Linked DNA regions of Homo sapiens: region 2 is linked to region 1. Evidence: promoter capture Hi-C in 16 types of primary human blood cells and fetal thymus (Javierre and others, 2016). All regions are on one chromosome and are shown on one strand. The core of a region is centred on a gene start or on the middle of the fragment in contact, and the rest is flanking DNA. Distances in the headings are between cores, read along the strand shown. Region 1 holds the start of KBTBD8 (kelch repeat and BTB domain containing 8). Region 2 overlaps LRIG1 (leucine rich repeats and immunoglobulin like domains 1).

What was found. Contacts are between HindIII fragments. The CHiCAGO score rates a contact against its expected background, and 5 or more counts as called.
Region 2: a contact is called between a fragment that was not itself captured here and the fragment with the promoter of KBTBD8 in region 1, in 1 of 17 cell types (fetal thymus). The highest score is 8.0, in fetal thymus.

What each region holds. Positions count from the first base shown.
Region 1 is chr3:66,996,915-66,999,614 of GRCh38, forward strand. It overlaps KBTBD8 (kelch repeat and BTB domain containing 8), which reads left to right and starts at 1,393. Exons shown (of 4, transcript NM_032505.3): 1 at 1,393-1,457; 2 at 2,067-2,277. The coding sequence starts at 1,442. RefSeq lists an enhancer at 1,051-1,150 and a silencer at 1,491-1,810. The HindIII fragment of the contact is 2,180 bases long and covers 1,357-2,700 here.
Region 2 is chr3:66,483,505-66,486,204 of GRCh38, forward strand. The region is part of intron 1 of LRIG1 (leucine rich repeats and immunoglobulin like domains 1); the gene reads right to left. Among named protein-coding and RNA genes, the nearest start is that of LRIG1, 16 kb to the right of the region's middle. The HindIII fragment of the contact is 2,792 bases long and covers 1-2,697 here.

The sequences.
Region 1 (2,700 bases), core at 143-2,642:
TATAGTATTTTAAGTTCTAAATTTCTCAGCAGACCTAGAAGACAGAACTGAATTGTTTTTCATAATTATTTCTCTTTCTCAATCACAATTTAAATTCCAAGATCCTTTCTTTATCAAGAAGTTCAACGGTTTGATCTTTTCAGTGCTAGAAAAGTTATGCACACGGGCTAACTATATGTCTACTAGAAATTCTTCCCATTCGCTGATACTTCCTTACATTTTAACATCTAGAAATAGCATTCCCAATGTTAGCTCATTTGCACCTTACATTTATTTTTAAAATATGAAACATCTATAATGTGCCAGGCACCCCGTTAGATGTTAGAAACACAAGATGAGTAAATAAAAATTCGTCAACAGTAAAATTTTGATTTTCTTTCCAAAAGGTTGCAGCCTATGAAATCCATGGAGTACGGATTACTATTACTTCACGTTACAGATGAAGGATCTAAGCGCTCAGGGGTTGAAAGGTCTTATGTCAGTTCTCACATATAGTGACTAAAGAGCCAGGGCTTCAGTAATCATCCCTGGCTCCGGGCTCAGGGCATTCCGGTATTTTTTCAAAGGAAATTCCGGAATACTTAGTATTGTATCCCCTCCATTTCCCAAGAGCAAAAAGTAAAGCATCTTGGATCCCCTTGTAATGTTCACGTGAGGAACAGGTGTTCTCTGGGTGTGCTAGAAAAGCAAGGCACCAGTGGGAGTTGAAGATCCTAAGCAGCCGCTGTAACCAGACCAAGTTAATCTGTGGAAACCAGAGCACCCGGCCAAGGCGATGCTATTTCAATTGGGTGTCATAGGTGACTCATCAGAGACGCCTTGCTTTTGGGCCTTGTGATATTTTTCTTCAGGGTGGGACGTCAGATTTCCTTTGCATTTTTGGACAACAGCCCTCCTGTCCATTTCCACATTTTTCTGGTTTTACAGCTCTCACGCAGAGCTTGATTTCATACCGGAAGCTAGTCACTGGCAGGAAGTTTACGGAAGAAGAAAAAGGTAAAAAAATGTGCCGGGGGCCAGGAGAGAGGCCTAAAATGGGGAAATTCGCACTTGAAGAGCTTTCCCTACCCCAGCCCCTCAGAATGACAGTTCTCCTCCGCCAGAAGACTACCTCTCCCGGCAGGCACTGCGCGCTCGACGGCCACAGGCTGGCCAGCTCCCTGCTCTCCACCTCCATCCGAATCAGCCAATAGGAATTCCCGGCTTGGGCCTCCGCCCGACCCGGACCACGCGGGAGCCGGGGCAATCAAACTACATTTCCCGACACGCATGTGCTCGCGTCGTGGCCAATCAGCGCCAGGAATTCGGAGGCTAGGGGTGGAGCCAGATGCACAGGACACCCCATTGGCCAGGGGAAGCTTAGAAGAGCCGGAACCCGGGAGCTAGAGAAGCGAAATGACATTTCCTTTTTAAATAGCTGGAGTCGGGGCCCCATCGAGAAATGGCCGCGTCGGCAGGTGGGTCGTGTGGTGGCCAGGGCGGCGTGGAGGGAGGTGAGGGGGAAGGTGGGCCGGGGCCGGCCACAGGCAGTGGGATGAGGACGTAGCGGTGCGGAGCTAGAGGGAAGGATGAAGCGGTGGAGGGGAATGAGAAGAGGGAGGATGAATGGTGCGGAGGGCGGTGGGCGGTCCGGCGGGACCGGGATGGGGAGGCTGGGTACCCGCCGGCGCTGCGCCCCAGGAGGCAGCGGGAGGCGGCTTGAGGGGGCACCGGCGGCCGCCGTTGTTCGAGCTTCCCTCGTGAGGCTCTGCCCTCGGCTCTCGGCGGAGTCCGCGCAGACGCCTCTCCTGGGCTGCGAGCGCGTTTCCTCCGCGAGCACGGGTGCCGGGCTCGCCGGGCTCCGCAGGAGCAGGCTGGCCTTTGAACTTGTTCCGCCGATCGCGCTCCGCCCTCTGTCTCCCAGATCCTTAACTCGCGGTCCCACGAGGTCGTGCGTATATCCACAGACATTTGTATATATCTTGTAGGGGGAAAAAGCCTAGCAAGCAGACACACAAACAGAAAAATCCCGCGATGCCGTAACTGGCTCGGCACTTCTTGTAGTTGTACGATTTTTCTCCTCCTAGATTTAAGTAAGTCTTCCCCAACACCGAATGGGATTCCATCTTCAGACCCAGCCAGCGATGCCATGGACCCCTTCCATGCTTGCAGTATTCTTAAGCAACTCAAAACAATGTACGATGAAGGACAGTTGACAGACATTGTAGTGGAAGTGGATCACGGGAAAACATTTTCCTGTCATAGAAACGTTCTTGCTGCAATCAGCCCTTACTTCAGGTATGATGATGGTAGGAACTTCTGTTGGTATCTGCACCAAGCTCCCTTTCCCCCTCAGTATTGTCCACTTGATGTTTATATTGAGATGCGATAATGAAATGAAACCAATGACTTTGTTTCTTGAGACTAGAAAACAAGTCCTCTCTTAACTAAGACCTTCTTTTGACTTGAGGGATTCTTCTAGATTTCGGGTGATTGCTTTTTAAGTTAGTGGGCCTGTGTGTGTGTGTTTGAGGTAAATGACCAGAAAATCTAGACTTGTGCTGGTCAGTATGGAAGCCAGTAGCCATGTGTGGCTGTTTAAACTTAAATTATAAGTTAAATAAAATAAAACATTTAGTTCCCCAGGTACACTAAATACTTTTTGAGTGCTTGCTGGTCACCTGCAGCTAGTGGCTGCCATATTGGGCAGCACAGAAATAC
Region 2 (2,700 bases), core at 52-2,551, 510 kb before region 1:
GCAGTCTTTCTCTCTGCCAGCAGCAAAGAGGGAGAAAAGCTACCTTGGCCTGGTCATCCTTTTTGTCAAAGCAGAGGCCTGAGCAAAGTAAGAGCTCAAGCAACCGAAACCAGCTGCCTGGCGAGGGCTCAGCATAAACTGAGCAGAATAACCACAAGGGGAAGGGTGTCTAGACAGCCTCGGTCTATGGAAGAAGCCACCCTCCCCTGCAGTGTCAACTCTGGAAAAGCAGGCTCCAAAACGCGGCTCCAGCAAAAGAGCAGATGAGAGACCATGTCAACAGCTGGGAAGGGCACCGCGGGCTCCCTCGCCAAACGCAACACAGAGGAGAGCGCCTGAGCCTGGCCCACCTGCCAAGGACAGCCACCAGCAATCCAGCAGGGACGAGGCGCCCGAGGACCTCATGTGGGGACAGTTCACATGCACTGCTTTAACTACAAAGCCACTTCAGTGACAATTCTTGCATATGGGACTTTTCCAAAATTCAGAGAGACCAAAAAGACCGCCAATTCTAAATGTGGCAGGTAAACAGCCTGTCATCTTTTCAACTTCGGTTCTATTTGTTTCTTCTTTCTTTCCATTCTTCTAAGTTTCTCAACACTTAAGAGACTTTGGTGGAGGGTGGTGAGGGGTATAGGAAGCTACTAAACAAGCAAGGTATATTCAGGAAATACACAGATGAAGCCTGGGAGGTCTGAATTATTCTATCTGGCAGAGGTATTTCCACAGGACATACAGGACTCTACAGAATGAATGCCACTATCTCTATCTACACTGGTATCTGTCACGAGCATTTAATGTGTCACAGGCTTCACACTAGATTCTGGGAATACAATGGTGGATTGGAAACAAAGCCAGTCACTGCATTCAGGGAGCTTACAGACTAATGGGGTAGTCAGAAACGAATCAAACATTCACACAAAACTTCTATACATAGCACTGCAGAATCCTCACGATGGGAATCTAACTTAAAGGGAACGTCAGCCATGGTTTCTATGGGGAGAAACGTTTAAGACAGATGAACAGAAATCTGCAAGGCGAAGAGGGAAGACCCATTCTCCAGACAGAGGAAATGGTGGGTGAGGGACATGGGACATGGTGGTATTTAAAAAGTCTTTTTAAAAAGCCCCACGTGGTGGCTGGGACAGGTGGGGCCAGGTAAGAAGCGCGATGAGGGGCAGGTGGACAGTAACAGCTTTAAACAATGGGATTCATGTGCTCCAATTTGCAACTCTGCAAAGACCCCTACAGCTGGGGGCAAGGGGTTGCAAACAGATGTGAGTAAAAAGCTCTCTCCTCCCTCTAAAGTCTGCATAACAAAGTGAAATAGTAATGACAAAAAAAATTTAAGATAAAATTTATACTACAGGCTAGGCATGGTGGCTCACACCTGTAATCCCAGCATTTTGGGAGGCCGAGGCCAGCGATTGCTTGAGCCCAGGTGTTCGAGACCAGCCTAGGCAACATGATGAAACCCTGTCTCTACCCCCAAAAAATACAAAAATTAGCCAGGCATGGTGGTGCACACCTGTAGCCTCAGCTGCTCAGGAGGCTGAGGTGGGAAAATTGCTTGAACCTGTGAGGCAAAGGTTGCAGTGAGTCAAGATCACACCACTGTACTCCAACCTGGGTGACAGATTAAGACCCTCTCAAAAAAAAAAAAAAAAGGAAAAATTATCATACAAAATTATTGATAAATTCCACCTTTCTCCTTCCATCTTGCTGCTACATTCCTTTTCTTTTGAATGAAGGGTGGGGGCAGTGGGTCACTGGCGGCCACAGCACTCTCCCAGGACTACGTACATCTTACAGAGCCACAAATCCAAGGCATGCCAAAGATTTCAGGCGGTGCATAAACTCCATCAGCAGGCTAAACTGTTTATATGTTCTTGAGTTAAAAATACACCACTCGGGTCAGCGTTAACACCAGGGCCTTATCACCAAGGCTGTCTGTGAGCTGGTTACACAAGGCTGGACCATGACTCGCCCATCTTTTAGATGTGTCTCAGTCTGCAAATTATCTAACGATTCATCAGTGAGATGATCATAAAGCCAACAAATATACACGCATTTGAGAAAAACACTTTCCAAACCCAAGGATACTTTACTGTTTATAAATAGTTTACTTTTTTTGATCCCCAAGCATATAATATTCGCAGTTGCTCCAGAAACCAAAGGAACATGGAACAGGAACACAAACCACAACCTAACAGAAACAATAAACAACAGATGGCAAAACATATGTGCATGTTACCACCCCCTTTACCAAACAGGCAAACCAAAAATGGATCTGACACACACGCCTACCAACAAAGAAACACGCTCTTCAAGATCACATTCAAGACACCATGTATAGAGCACCAGCTGTACAGCCAGAACTACACTAGGTGCTTCAAGCCACCAAAGACCAATCGGCCTCCAGGAATTCAGAGACGTCAAAGGGAGGCCAGAAAGAAGGCAGTGCTAGTCTTACCGTATTTTCTTCTAAACATGTACACGCAGGTCTGAATTCTAACTGGCAAGTGCTAGACTCTAAACAAGTCATTCAACTACTCTGGGCCTCATGTATACAACAGAGACAATATTTTTCATAGAGTTAAGATGGTGATGATCAGTTAACACAGATATATCCTGCTGCAGAAAGGTACACTATTATTGCGACAGTTATAATAATAACATTATAGCTACCCTTCCTCAAGC